3 separate regions of the Homo sapiens genome follow, and regions 2 and 3 are each linked to region 1. The links are contacts of gene promoters, found by promoter capture Hi-C in human tissues and cell types (Jung and others, 2019). All regions are on one chromosome and are shown on one strand. Each heading gives the region's core, a stretch centred on a gene start or on the middle of the fragment in contact. The rest is flanking DNA. Distances are from core to core; before and after follow the strand shown. Region 1 holds the start of NSMAF (neutral sphingomyelinase activation associated factor). Region 2 has its middle 300 kb from the start of CA8. Region 3 has its middle 190 kb from the start of LINC03018.

Evidence for each region. The method cuts DNA at HindIII sites, captures the fragments that hold promoters and counts their contacts. A contact is called where the count stands out against the background at its distance.
Region 2: a fragment that was not itself captured here is called in contact with the fragment with the promoter of NSMAF in region 1 in 1 of the 25 tissues and cell types used here (lymphoblastoid cells).
Region 3: a contact is called between a fragment that was not itself captured here and the fragment with the promoter of NSMAF in region 1, in 1 of the 25 tissues and cell types used here (dorsolateral prefrontal cortex).

The regions. Positions count from the first base shown.
Region 1 is chr8:58,656,974-58,661,979 of GRCh38, forward strand. It overlaps NSMAF (neutral sphingomyelinase activation associated factor), which reads right to left and starts at 2,880. Exons shown (of 31, transcript NM_003580.4): 1 at 2,600-2,880. The coding sequence starts at 2,658. RefSeq lists enhancers at 1,320-1,883, 1,418-1,707, 1,884-2,446 and silencers at 2,158-2,607, 2,618-2,957. The HindIII fragment of the contact is 8,969 bases long and covers 1-5,006 here.
Region 2 is chr8:59,976,215-59,981,220 of GRCh38, forward strand. No RefSeq gene overlaps it. Among named protein-coding and RNA genes, the nearest start is that of CA8, 300 kb to the right of the region's middle. The HindIII fragment of the contact is 4,455 bases long and covers 423-4,877 here.
Region 3 is chr8:57,557,506-57,562,511 of GRCh38, forward strand. No RefSeq gene overlaps it. Among named protein-coding and RNA genes, the nearest start is that of LINC03018, 190 kb to the right of the region's middle. The HindIII fragment of the contact is 5,602 bases long and covers 319-5,006 here.

The sequences.
Region 1 (5,006 bases), core at 1,630-4,129:
TTCATTGTTTATCTGAAATTCGAACTTAACTGGGTGTGCTGTATTTTATCAGATAATCCTAGCTGGAATTCTTCCTTTATCACCTCTCACAGACAATACACCACACCAAGACCTGTCAATCACACGTCCTAAAAACATCTAGAATCCATCCACTTTCCTCCATTTATTCTGCCACCACCTTGGTTTAAACCACCAATGCAAGAATCTCCTAGTCAGTCTCTATGCTTCTGCTTTTGCAGGAATATCAAAGTACATCAACCTAACAATAAGAGAAATAAATGCTCATTTCAAGTTTCTTTTCTGGGGTCAATATTTGGTAGCTCTGGAAATCTAAAATCCCTTAATTAGCATGAGAGCCGCCAGTGAACTTACAATGAACAGGTTGAGGCCTCTCATGGGTAACCTCTGAAACAACCCCTCTTCAAGTTTTCCAAGAAAAGTAACAATTTTCCTGGGTATGCTGGAGCCAATGACGAATCCAATCCATTTGCTAATTTGTGTTTATTGATGCAAGGGGATAAACCCGGAAAAATCTGGGCAGAAATGGTAAATTTGGGGCTTAATAAAGTTGCCTTAAAATATTCCTCTGTTTCAGAATGAATTCTAAGATTTATAAAAGAGACTCCTTGATTCCAGTGCATACCTGATGTGAGACAGATTCCTGTCATTCAAATGCATATTCTATGCATTGAATGGAGTATGCCCATCAGCCCAGGTTGCAAAGCCATGGGGCAGAGCACTAAACAATTTGGGCACTCAGCAAGTTATAATTCAAATAAATATAAAACACATGGCGCCAACTTTTTCAGATGACTGATGCTCAGGAACAGTTGATGCCTCCTGACTGGATAGATAAATGTTTTGGTTGCCAAGAGCTAGAGTTCTCTCTGAACACTGCCAGCCTATCACGTTGTTGTCTAATCAATGAATTCTAACAAAGCAGCATATACATGGAAATGCAAGTACAGGTTTCAAGGTTTGTGTGACACCACGGAGCTGTATGAGCTAGCCAAATTGAACACAAATTACTTCATCGAAATAACAGCCAGAACCAAGGAAAAAACGTTTCCCTGTATATCAAAAAGGCCAATATGAGTATTGGCACGAATGACTCATATCATACAACATGATGCCAATTCAAGTGTGTCAAAGTTCTCACAATTTAAATATGAATGTTCACCCACTCAATACAGAGCACCAACAAGTCTTAATATTGTTGGTACTAAACAAAGAATCTCCACTCAAGCTCTTTCCACAAGAAAAATGCATTACAAATTCAGTCAGAAGGGCATCCCCAAGTGTGAGTTACATAGTTAGGGCTCAGTTATTTAATAAACAACCCTTTCTGTGACTAAAACCTAATCACATCACCAAAAACATTTTTGAAAGCCATATCTGAGATACGTTTTCTGTGTATCGTATCTTCTTCTCTACAGTAGAAAAATGACATTTCGTACTGTGGACACACTGGTTAGACCAACATTACAGATTAGAGAAAGATGAATGTCTGGATCAAAGGGGTCGAGTCAACCCTTATAAAACAAGTGTAGACAAATCTTGAAGTCTGCACTTGTATTCCCACGTGTAACCTGCTTTGCTGGTATTCACTGATGAGACAACGTGACAGGCTAGCAGCACTGGAAGATCTGTGGCTCTCACAATCAAAACAGTGTGTCTGTAAAATGATTCAGCCCCCCTTTCCTTTTGGCATCTGAGCTGCAGACCGAGCAAGTTGTTTCTGTCACCAAAAATGCCCTGGGAACTATACATAGAGCCGAAGTGAGCTTTCTTATGAGACTTCCCTTGGGGACAGGTCCAGCATATCTGAAAGGGAACTGCTGTGAGACCATTTTAGCTCAAGGGATCCCAAATCCTTACTGGGATGCTGGTGAGAATGAGTGCTCCGCTGCCGCACCGCGATTTCGACTGCAAAGCTTTCCAACACAAGGTCCACTGCGCGGGGAGCAAGTGTTTGGGAGGCAGGACCTTGGCTTTCCTCAGAATCAGGCCTTTCCGGCGGCCCCCCTCCCAGCCTTCCAGGGCATGGAGCTAGTCCTGTGTCTAAAGGAGTCGGCAGGAAAAAGGCGCGGCAATGCGAGTGGGTGGTCGCCGGCCTGCTCGGTGCCGCCCGGCGACCAACTCTGCGGCGCCGGCGCCGAGTGCCTGGACCCGATTAAGGGGAAGGATTAGAAAGGGGGTGCCCGCCGGGCAGCGTACTCACCCTCCCCTGCGAACGCCCGGGCTCGCGTGCCGGGATCCACGCCCGGACCCCGCGCGGCCTTCCGGGTGAGCTGCCCGCGGCCGCCGGGACCTGCACTGCCGGATAGCTCGGCATGCCTCGGCTCCGCGGTGGAATCTGGCCTGGCCCGTCATCCAGTTCCTGTCCCCGGCAGGCTCCGGCCCAGACCAGGCCCCCGGCCTCTCACCCCGACCTCAGGTTTCCGCCACAGCCCCCAGCCCAGGCCCTGGACACGCGTCCGGCCCCTGCCTCCGTGCCCGGCCCCCACGCCGCCTCCCGTCCCTCAGATCTCCGGCCGGCGTCCCCACGACCGGCCCCGACTAGGCCCCCGGCTGGGCCCTTCTTCAGCTGGGCGCGCACCTCTCCTTGGAGTAGAGCTGCAGCTGCTGCTCCTGCTGCTTCTTCCGGATAAACGCCATGGAGGGTAGGCGCGGGCGGGCGCAGAGCGCACAGGCAGGCCCCGCCGCCGCCTGCCGAGGAGGTCCGGAGGAGCCGGGGAGGGCGGGATTGGTGGCCGGCTGGGGAGCGCGCGGCTGCCGGCCTGGCTTCCCCTGCGGCGCCGCTGGGCGGCCGAGAGCCCGACGCGGCGTCCCGGCCGCGCTCACCGCAGCATCCTCGCGTGGGGACTCCGGCGGCACCGTGACTCAGGCCCGGAGGAGGGGCGCGCGGTGACACGAGGCGCCCCAAACTCAGGCCGCCTCAGAGGATCGCCAGGGCCAGCGGCCAGACCAGGATCCGACCTCACACACTAAACGTTTCACCACTTTACCAACCATTGCAGGCTGCGTTTTAAATATTTTACGCATAAAAAGGGATGCTGGCCCATAAACCACCAATCTGTTGGCCACAAAGACTTGAAATAACAACGTTTTGTGTCCTCCATTGTGAAAAAAAAAAAAAGACGGAAGTTAAAGGGGTGAAGGCAACTCAGTCGTAACTATTCCAAATACACCAGGAATAAGTGGAGATTTATAGCCAAGGAGCAAGGAGCAGGTGTTCGGAAAACTGCTAAGAGGAAACATCAATTCTGGGGGAAATTCTGGCTGAACCAACCTAACAGGAGTCCCAGTGAAGGCAGGCCAGGGGGTCAGATACTAAGGGTAGGAGTAAAGAATTTTGATCACATATGGAGGGTGGGGGATTCTTGCTAAACTGCCGTGGCAGTGTTACTTCCTAACACTGCATTTACAAGGAAGTGCACACAAGGACCTGGGAGAAGATTCAGAAGCCTAACTGAAGTTTGGCCAAGCAAAGAATCTTTAACACAGTCTCTTGATTGTTGAGATAATTGCTCGCATGATTTTTTTTTATATAACAGCTTTATTGGGATATAACTCACATACCAAACAAGTCAACCATTTAAAGTATACCATTCAGCGATTTTTAGTATATTTCCAGATATGTTCAACAATCACCACAATTTGAGAACATTTTCATCACATGTAAAAGAAACCCATACCCTCTAGCTGTCACTCTTCCTAACTCTACCCTCCAAACCCCAGCCCTAGCAAACAATAATCAATTTCCTGTCTCTATGGGTTTGCCTATTCTGGATATTTCATATAAATGGAGCCATACAATATGTGGCCTTTTGTGTCTGGCTTCTTTCATTTAGCGTAATGCTTTCAAGGTTCATCTATGTTGTAGCATGTATCTGTACAGTACTTCGTTCCTTTAGATTGCTGGAGCATATTCTGTTGCATTTTGTTTATCCATTCATCAGTTGATGGACATTTCAGTTGTTTCCACATTTTGGCTATTGTGAATAAGGCTGCTGTACACAGTCATGTACAGTTTTTTTATGGACCTATGTTTCCATTTCTGTTGAGTGGAATTGGAATCTAAGAGTGGAATTGCTGGATGTGGAGGCGAAAGCAGCTCCATCTTGGAAGCTAATCCTCCGTGTTGACTTCTGATTGACCCCAGTTCTGGGAAGGCCTCTAAGATTTCTACTTTATCTATTGTTCCTTGTGTAAGAGCAGGTATCTACCCAGTATGTTCTGTCCTTAATTCAAACAACTTGATGTTATTATACTTCAATTGTCCTACACATCCCTTCTGAACCACCCCTCCCCTATGGTATATAAGCCCTAAGGGGCTGGAGTGATGGCTCATGCCGGTAATCCCAATGCTTTTGGAAGTTGAAGCTGGAGGATTCCTTGAAGCCAGGAGTTCGAGACCAGCCTGGGCAACAAAGCAAGACCCTGTCTCTACAAAAAATAAAAAATAAAAATTACCTGGGTACAGTGGCACACACCTATAGTCCCAGCTACTGGAGAGGCTGAGGCAGGAGGATTGCTTGAAGCCAGGAGTTCGAGACCAGCCTGGGCAACAAAGCAAGACCCTGTCTCTACAAAAAATAAAAAATAAAAATTACCTGGGTGCAGTGGCACACACCTATAGTCCCAGCTACTGGAGAGGCTGAGGCAGGAGGATCACTTGAGTCCAGGAGTTTGAGGCTTCTGTGAGCCATGATCGTACCACTGCACCCCAACCTAGGCAATACAGAGAGAGAGAGACCTTATCTCAAAAGAAAAAAAAAAAAAAACATTGAGTCTGGGGGTTAATAGCACAGCAATCCACCATCTCATCTTGCTGCCCAAGACACAGATATGGACATGGCTTCTGTTCCTTAGTCGCTATTAAATGTTTCTTCCCAAGGAACTTTATTTGTCAGCCTCTTTCTTCCACCTCCCGGCATCCCAGGACTTTGAGATAGATTTGTATAGGCCTGCCCACCATGGAACTGGGTCATATGGTAACTCCA
Region 2 (5,006 bases), core at 1,400-3,899, 1.3 Mb after region 1:
GTTAGACCAAGACTACCCCAGTCTTAATTATTGGCCATTTCAGTATGCACATAAGTAATTCTTCCAATATTCCAGCATTCGGTCTTCAACTTTTCTCTTTCAATTTGTCCTCCAATTTATCTCAATGATTCAGTGACTTTCTCTTATGAATCTCCCTCAGACCTTGTAACCATCGATACCCACAATCTCCCAACAACCTCAATTCCACGAATCCCTCTTTGAGCTCTACTTCTTTCCAGCTGTCTTCCTTTAGCGCTCTAATGCCAATCATCTTTCTATCCCATTGAGACTTTCAATTCATTGATCTCATCAGCTTTCACTCTCTTTCACCTCCATGATCACCTCTCTTCCCTGATTAACTGGATTTATTTGCCCCTCAAAGTCTTCGTTGGGTTTGTTAGACAAAACTGATACAGGAGTTACGAAGAAATCACTTAGGCAGATAGTAAGGGTATGGGAGTCCTCTGTAAGGCTTTTACTTTTATGAAAAGCAGGCCCAAATCATTTTCTAACAAAGAGAAGCCGGTAAAGTTGAGCTGAAGACACAGACAAGCAAGCGGGGAGCTTGCACGGGTGAATGCTGGCAGGAACTAAGGACTAGACATGTTCAAGATGGTGGCTCCATCTTCTCTTTTCCATGTCAGCCACGTGTACAGTAAGAAGCAGACAAGATGGCCCCCAATCAACTGGAAAGCCCATTAGGGTGGGGTGAACAGCCTTCCCCTTGCGCTATGTAAAAGTCATACCTGATCAAACCAATCTGTGAACCCTATGTAAATCAGACACCACCTCTTCAAACCTGACTATAATATTGGGCGCATGAGCCCCCTGTCCATCTTTTTGCTGAGAGACCACTTTATAGAGAAAGCTGTTTCTCTTTCTCTTCTCTTCTACTATTAAACCTCTGCTCCTAAACTCCTTGTGTGTGTCTGTGTCCTAAATATTCCTGGCACGCAACAACAAACCCCAGGGTATATACCTCAGACAATGTAGTCATTTCAAAGCCAAAGACATAGATAAAAGCAATAATCTCTGCCTTCTGCACCTGTATAACGAAAGAACATAGCAAAAGGAAAGCCCAACCACACTGTCCAGTACCATTTTGAATTAATGACTAAAAACCCCAAGCGTGCTGTTAATAATACCAAGTAAAATATAATCTGATACTATAATGCTATAGTATTACGTTATCATTAAGTTCATTTAACCTCTCACTATGGTAATAGTTGACTTTTTCACATGTTTTCTTGCTCCTTAAACTGCTGACATTTCCTTTCTCATCTTCATGCACAACTGATAACTTTGCTTTCTACCAGACTAAGAAAATAAAGCAGTAACTAACTTATTTCAAGTTAAAGTGGACTAGACAATTCCTTCATTAAGAACAAACCACGAAATCTGGAAAAAATATTCATGAAAGCTTTTTGAAAGCAAGATGGAATTAACAAGGTAGTGAAGAATTAGGGCATATGATCCAGGAAAAGAAGAATCCCCAGAAAATTGAGCCTGGCATGTATCCCAAGGATGTCTTCCAATTCAGGAAGAGACATATGAGAGCCTGAGGAGCTGAAAAGCACTTTCAACAGCTTTGATTGTCTAGGGGCACAAGTATTAGAGTCTATGTCTAAACAAGAAGGAGCAACCCTGGTAAACTGCACATAATTAGAGTTTGAACAACAAACACCAGCTACACCATAAGAATAAAGCAAATCCAGAACCGGATTAGATTATCCAGATTGCTAGTGCCTCTACTTACTTCTGGAAACAAGTATACATCCTCCCTGAAGAATTTATACTTATTTTATATATTTAATTATATATAATGTAACATATATTATGTATTATAAAGATATCATCAGCAAAATTGTTAAAAATATTTCTACACATAATATCCAGCATTTAATCAAAGAACCATGAACAAAAGGAGATAATTCCACATGAATTTAAAAAGGAAAATAAGCAGAAAATAAAATAGATACACAAAGAGCCCACAAAATAATTAGCAGACATGAGACATTAAATAACTATGCTTAATATGTTTAAGAAAATAAAATCCAAGATTGAGAATTTCAACAGAACACTACAAACTGTAAAATGAAATAAGAAAATTTTAGACCTGAAAAATATAATGTCCAAAATTAAAAATCCACTGGATAAATTTAGCAGCATATTAAACAGAACTGGAAAGAATATTATTGAACTAGAAAGCAGGCAGAAAAAATACTCTGAACAAAACAGATAGAAAACTTGTGTAGGAAAAAATAAACAATAGAGGAGAAAGAGACCAAGGGTATTTAACATACATGTAATTTGCTTTCCCAGAAGGAAATCAAAATGGAGCTGTAGTAATATTTGAAAAGATAGTGGTTGAGAATTGTCCTAAAGTGGTAACCAAAGGAAATATTCAAAAAGCATTCTGAGCCACAAGCAGGATAAATTTTTTTAATAGGCATATCATTTGAAAATGTTAAAAACAGAGAAAATCTTACAACCACATAAGGGACAAAAAAAGATGAATCTGAAAAGACCAAGAATCAGACTGCAGGAGATTTTTCAACAGAAGCAATAGAAGCCAGAAAACACAGGATTAATATCTTCAAAGCATGGAAAAAAAATAACTGCCAACTGAGAATGCTATACTCAAAGAATGCATTTTTCAAAAGTGAGGGTACAACAAAGACATTTTCTAACAAAGAAAAACAGAAAATTTAGCTCCAGCAGACCAGCACTGAAAGAAATACAAAAAGGTGTTTTTCAGGCAGAAGGGAAATGAAACCCGATGGGAGTTCAGGAATTGGTGAAGGAAGGATGAGCAATAAAAATGATAAACATGTGTAAAGATTTGAATGAAATTTGCTTCTAAAACATTTTAAGAGTATAATAGTGTTTAAAAATATGTGTGTGGCAACCTAGTGAGACCTTTACTCTGCAAAAAAATGTTTTAAAAATTAAGCTGGGTGTCATTGCACATGTCTGTATTCCTAGCTACTCAGGAAGCTGAAGCAGGAGAATCCCTTGATCCCAGGAGTTTGAGGCTGCAGTGATCTATGATTGTGCCACTGCATTCCATCCTGGGCAACAGAGTGAGACCTCATCTCTAAAACACACACACGCATATACACACATACACACACACATACACACACACACACGTGTATGTGTATTTGTTAAGAAAACATTTATATATATATAAAGACAAAAATAACAAAATAACAAATATACCATATAAGCTAAGAAGAGGATAAATAGAGTTAAAGTGTTTTAAGATTTGTACATTTTCTGAGAAAAGGATAAAAGTACCAAGGACTCTTGTATGCAAGGAATTCATGACGTAATTTTTTAGGAAAACCACTAAAAGAAGAGGAAAAATCTATAAAATCAACTAGCTAATAAGGATGAAAATAATAAAAATAATAATTCAAAGAATGACACAAAGAGAAAAGGAGAACATACAAAAGCTGGAGTAAGGACAAAAGACAGTGAATTTAAATCCCAATGTGTCAGTAATTTATACTATTGACTAAGTGTTTCCATTTTTAAAAAATATGTTTTTCAGGCCCAACTGTATGCTGGTAAGAAGGAAAGTATGTATAATATAAACATATAGAAAGGTTAACAAAAATATCTCCCAGTGTGGTTATGGATTTCTCTATTTCTCTATGTAGTTCTGTCCATTTTTATTTTATGTAGTTTGAAGTCACATTACAGGTGCACATATATTTGTCCAATAGAATTATTACTACAATGCAAGCTTTCTAAATTTCAAAACACACATCAAAGAATTAGATTATAATTACCTTGCAAATAAATTAACATAAAAGACATACATAAGATACTGCAACCAATAATTGCAGAACATTTTGTTCTTAAAGAACGTTATTTGTGAATAAATTTACATTTTTAGAAAAGTTGCAAAGGTAGAACAGAGGGTTCCTACAAAATATTCATTTGGTGTCCCTATTGTTAATATTTTACATAACTGCAGTAAATTGGTACAATACTATTACCTAAATTTTAGATGGCTAGTATTAACCTTAATCACTTGGTTAATGTGGTGTCACTTAGGTTTCCTCACTGTAAAGTTATTATTTTTCTCTTCTCAAACTCTATTATTTAAAAGCAAGTCAATAAATCCTGACAACCCTCAAGGAGATGAAAACTAAACTCTATTTATTTATATCAGTATGAATTTATGAATACTTATTTTAGGGGTTGCAATCCAATATTATCATTACTTATTTATTACTCAAATTGCTCCAGCAGTTAGATAGGCTGCTACATCCTTTTAACATGCCACTATTATTTCTGTTTGGTTTTGTTTTTTAGCACAACCTTCAGTAACCCTCTTTTTCTTTTTCTTTTTTCAAAGGGACAGGATCTTGCTTGCTGCCCAAGCTAGAGTGGTGTGATCACAGATCACTGCAGCCTTGAACTCCTGGGCTGTAGCGATCTTCCCTCCTCAGCATCCCAAATAGGTTAGATTACATGTGGGAGCCAGCGCCCAGCTAGTCTCATTTTATATTTTGCCCTCCTCAATCCTAAAATCAACTATTTCACCAAGGAGCACTGGCTCATTTAATTGAAAAATGGCATATGAAAACAAAAATCTGGGTGCTGGAGATGTTCATTGCTACTAGGGTGTCACTGTTTCTAGTTCCTTTCAATGAAGAGGCCTGGGAAAATATTTGTAAGGTATGCCTTATATGCAGGCATACCTCAGAGACAGTGCACGTTCAGTTCCAGACCACCACAATAAAGTGAATATCGTGATAAAGCAAGTCACAGAAACATTTTGGTTTCACGATGAATATAAGAGTTATATTTACATTATACTGGAGTCTGTCAAGTGTGTGAAAGCATTATGTCTGAAAAACCAATATACATACCTTAATTTAAAAATACTTCCTTGCTAAAAAATGCTGACCTTCATCTGAGCTTTCAGTGAGTTATGCCCTTTTTGCTGGTGGAGGGTCTTGTCTTTATGTTGATAGCTGCTGATCAGTGTG
Region 3 (5,006 bases), core at 1,870-4,369, 1.1 Mb before region 1:
TTTTTTTTTTGCTCCCTTCCATTTCTGGAAGTCTATTATATGCACATTTGATGGACTGATATTGTCCACGTATCATTGAGATACATATAACTTTGTTCAGATTTTTTCTCTCTGTTCTTCAGATCAAAATGTTTCATTGCCTAAATTTAGCTTCTTTCTAGCATGCTCCCCAGAATTCTTCCAGCTGCTACCTACTGCCCAATTCCAGAGCCACTTTTCTATTTTTAGATATTTGTTACAGCAGCACCCCAAGTACCTAGAAAAGTCTTTTATGCCTGCTTCTCTGCCAGATGACTTGAATATGCTACTAGATTTGGAATTCACCTTTCTCCAGGGTCATTACTGATTTCAAAGAGGTGAATTTACCTGTGCTAGGGTTTTCACACTGGGAGTGCTCCCAGAGCTACCACAGGATGAAAGTGGTGAGCCCACCACTGCAGAGAAGTTTTCTCAGTGCCATAATTTAGAAGAATTCTTCTCAAAATAAGCCCTACTCCTTTTCACTTACTGAAAAGAACTTGGATAATGTTTAACAGCCAGCCCCATTTCAAAAAGATTACCAGGGGTAAAACAACCTTTTCATGGGTCAAAATCATCTTCTGAAGAAAATGCTTTCTTAAAAGAAATGAACATTTTAAATCAAAGGGTATTGTCCTGTTTTGGATTAACAAAACAGGGCAAATAACCAATCCTTGTAAAATTATTTGAAAATTTCTTGTTTTTATCAGTTGAGTGCCTATAGATGCACATACAAAAACAACAGCCATTTTTGTATATAATAGTCTTCTAAAATAGATATTTACATTAGGAGAGAATTAAACATCCAGGAGGGATGAACAGTATTTCATGTGTGCTATGTAGTGTTTTGCTTCATTGAGAGTCATTTTCATGAATTATTTTTACTACTGCAGTCATTCTTCTTAAATTTATAATCATCTCAAAAAAGATGTCACAATGAACAGTTAGACAACCATGTGTGAGGTCAGTCATTCTGCATGATGTATGTAATCAAAAAGTTTGAAATGTCTGCTTACAAATAAAGAATGTTTTTACTGAAAAAGAAAGTTTCATTGCCTATAAATTTACTAAACATTCTATCAAATATCTTGTTCAACCCATTTAATAAATTTTTACATTTAGACACTACAATTTTTGGCTTTAAAAGATCCATCTGATTCTTTTTATATTTTTTATTTCTTTTCTCATTGTGCTCATGTTTTCATTTAAATGCTTGAACATATTTATAACGACTGTTTTAAACTATCTGCAAATTTAATCACTTCTGTCGTTTCTGGACATTTCTAAACCATGTCTATTCACATTTTTTCAGATAATAATGGGTCACATTTTTCTGCATCTTTGCATATACACTAATATTTGATTGGTTGCTGAATATTGTAAATATTAAATCATTAAGTGTCAAGATTATATTGTTTTCCTTTAATGAGTGTCGCAATTTGTTCCCGTAGGCAGTTATTTACATGCCAAATGGCTTGATATTTTTAAAAATTGACTTTAACTTTGTTTGGGTGAGTTTAGAACAGATTTGTCTAGCACTAGTTGATGCTTACTGCTAAGACCCTCCTGGGGTCTCTATTGAATGCTGTGGCTATTCAACGGAGTCCTCTCTTGTTGCCTGGAACTGCATCTTCCAGCCCTGTGTGGGCTCTGGTGATTTTTCAACTTATGTCATCCTATAGTTATTCTTTCCCTGGGAGTTAACAAAGATGCTCTCCTTGACCTAGCTTTAGTGAAACTCCTTTAAGTCCTTAAAACCCTGACCTTGGACTCTGTTCGTGGCCTACTTGGCCCAGTTTTAGCAAAAACCCTGCTGAGTCAGTTTAGAAAACTCCCTGACCTCAATATAAAATCAAATTCTTCATTCCCCACCCTCCATATCTTATCACCTCGCCTGCCTTCTGCAAGAATCTTGAGTTTTCTAGTTGACTACAGGAGCAGGGCAAATTTAGTACCAGTTACCCCATCATGGCTACGTACAGAAATTCAAAAGTTAATATTTTAAGAAATATTCTTTCTCTTTTCACTAGAAAGTAAGTCTCGCAGCAACAGAGATTACTTTTACTCTTATATCTCTAGTTCCTAAAGTAAGCGTCTGGTATACAACTGGTCCTCAATAAATTCTTGTTGAATGAATGGTGACAGGAGGCATTTGGGTACACATGAAAGAAATTTCAGTGAATAATGGTTTACTCAATAGGTGCTTAAGCTCTGCACATTGCAAGAAGTGTTGGGGAGGGCAGTTCCTGGCTCTGGCTCAACTGCAGTGCTTCCATGAAGACACAGTCTCTGTCTTGCCACTCCATCCTTACAGGTTTTTATTTGCTCTTTAGTCTTCTAGCTACATGGTTAATGGAAATGTGTCTTCTTTGGGGGTATCTTTAAAGCATGTGTGCTGTGTTATTTGTGTATATTTAATTTTTTGCTAGAGGACAAGAAAGGAAAATGGATGATGTAACTCATAAGTTGTATTAAGTATATACAACTTATGGCTTGTGAGTCATAGGAAGATCATAAGACGTATAGATTATAAATTAGTAACCCATAAGACACATCAGATATAGGATAAAGGGGATATTTATGTGTTGAGACAGAACAAAGAAGACTAATATCTACAGATAGCAATAGAAAGGCCACATAAACCTTAAATATGCACAAGGTTCAGATGATGTCACCTGTGGTTTGAAAGCTATGCCCTTCTACATCAGCCTCCCCAGGGTGACACCCATATGGCCTCACATGTTTTCTGCCAAAGGCATGCATATGTGAGGCTTGCCTGCTCTTCAGGTGGTTGGGGAGTGATATTGTGATGAGGGGGGCCACGGCGTCACTGCAGCAGAGCAGCATGTGTTGGCTTCAGGCACTGTCTGCCTGTGGACACCCGTGGCTCACCATCAGCTCTGGTGCTTGACACACTGGTTCAGCAAGAAGCCTGCTGTGGTGGAGAGGGGGCTGGGTGAGCAAGTGTCATAACATAGGACTCAGTGAGTCTTTCTCCCTCCTCCCTTCTCTTTCTCCTTGCTTCTCACTGTAGGCTTTAGACGGACTCAAGTCTCTGAGGTTCAACACCTTAGTTTGATGTGTGACTCCTTCTGCTCCATGACCTCAGGGACAACCTTTCTGGCAGTGCAGTCAGGGGCTACTGTGGCATGCCGAGGTTTTCCCAGCTGGTATCACTACCTCCATATTGCAGGTAGGAATACAGAGTGGGGGCATTGCCGGGGACCCGGGCTTCATTGTCTTTTAATAAGCAATTCTAAACTTTTCAAAAAGCTTCCTAACAGACTTCCCCTGATAGTTCACCAGCTAGAATTATGTCACTGGGACACTTCTAGCCTGCAAGGGAGGCTGAGGCAGAGAATTTTTAGTTTCTGAAGGCTCTGCCACAGAGATGAGCAGGGAGAAAAGGTTGGCGATAAATATGGGAACATGTAGCTAGCGGTCTCTGCCCCAGATATGATATTGAATATGAGCCTCAGAATTCTTGTCAATAAAATGTGTTCCTATGTCACTGGATTTTTGTGAGGATAAAATAAATGCTCTATGTGAGATGCCTTGCATAGAGTCTGACCCATCGAAAGGGTTCAGGCATTAGTTTTATTTACTCCATTCTGTCTTATTTTATTCTGTCTTTTCTGCAGAGTAAACTAGGTGTCCTATCATTTTTCACTAAGTTAAACTCCTCAGAATGACAAATTAAGGGCTTCTGCAATGTGGCTCCAATCCATCCTTCTCTGTCTTATCTCTGTCTTACTCTGACTCACACTCCAGTGTCTGAACAGGCCCCATGCTGTGCCATCTGTGGGGCTCTGCCGGTTCCTGGAGGTACTCATCCATCACACCCTCCTCCAGAACCAGCCCCAGGCCAGGCCCAGGGCCCTCAGTACATCCCCAGTTTTCCTGTAGTCAGGATGACTTTCTCTATGATCCCATGGATCCCATTGTTGCTTTATTGAAGCACAGTCTGAAATTTTTCCAGCTAGCCTTATAGCTGTCAAACTTTCAAAATTTAATTTCCTTGAGCAGCACAGTCTCTCAGCACAGAGCCCAGAAACACAATAGGAGCTCAGGGTATTTTTAATCCTGCCCGTGGTTCAATTGGGGAGGGGCTTCCAAAATGTACACACGACCCATCAAAACATTTAACATCTCTGTGCCCTAAAGTCGTTCTAAATGTATACTTTTGGATGGTTAAAAGCGTTTTCTCTAGAAGTCTCATTTTAGGCTGATAGGTGGAGCTCTGACCAAGATGCCCTTTAGGCCCCATAGGTTCCCCTCTGATGTGTGACAATTCAATTGATTCCAACAGGGCAGGGATCCCCCAGGCAGTGGAGGGCAGCAGAGACATCAGTTCTAGGAATGAATTCATTAAAAGCCCCTCACTTTGGTTGGAAGGTACACTTACTTGGCTCTTTGAGTTAGCACACGCTTTCATCCACAAGATTGACTACACACCTGTATCTGGCAGGAAATCTACTAAGTCAGTACTTACTGGGAAATTTTGATGTGCACTGCATCTGTGATTAAATGAAAACAGCAAGGAAACATTGTATGGACTCACAGTGGATTTGTTATAAAAAAAGAAGCCCCTCAATAACTCTTCTTTAAATTAAAAGTCTAAACATAGGTAATATGACTGTACATACTATATCTTTTAGAAATCAAATGTTAACAATAATCTACAAGTTTTGTGGCCTTCATTAAAGAAAAAAAATTAAAACATGCTATTTTACCATCTTAGATTTTTTTTTTTAAATAGTAAGAAAGATATTGCTCCATGATGTTATTAAACTCATCAAAAGAGGCATAGCTATTTTTTGAAAATCTTAATCTAAGAATTCATTAGTTGTAAAAATATATAACTTGACAAGAAATGTTTTCAAAAGGAGAGCTCCTCTGTATTTAATTGAAAGGTTTGGTAAACACTTCCTATATTTCATTACTATTTTGAAAGAACTAATATGCTTTAAACAGCAAAATAAGCATTT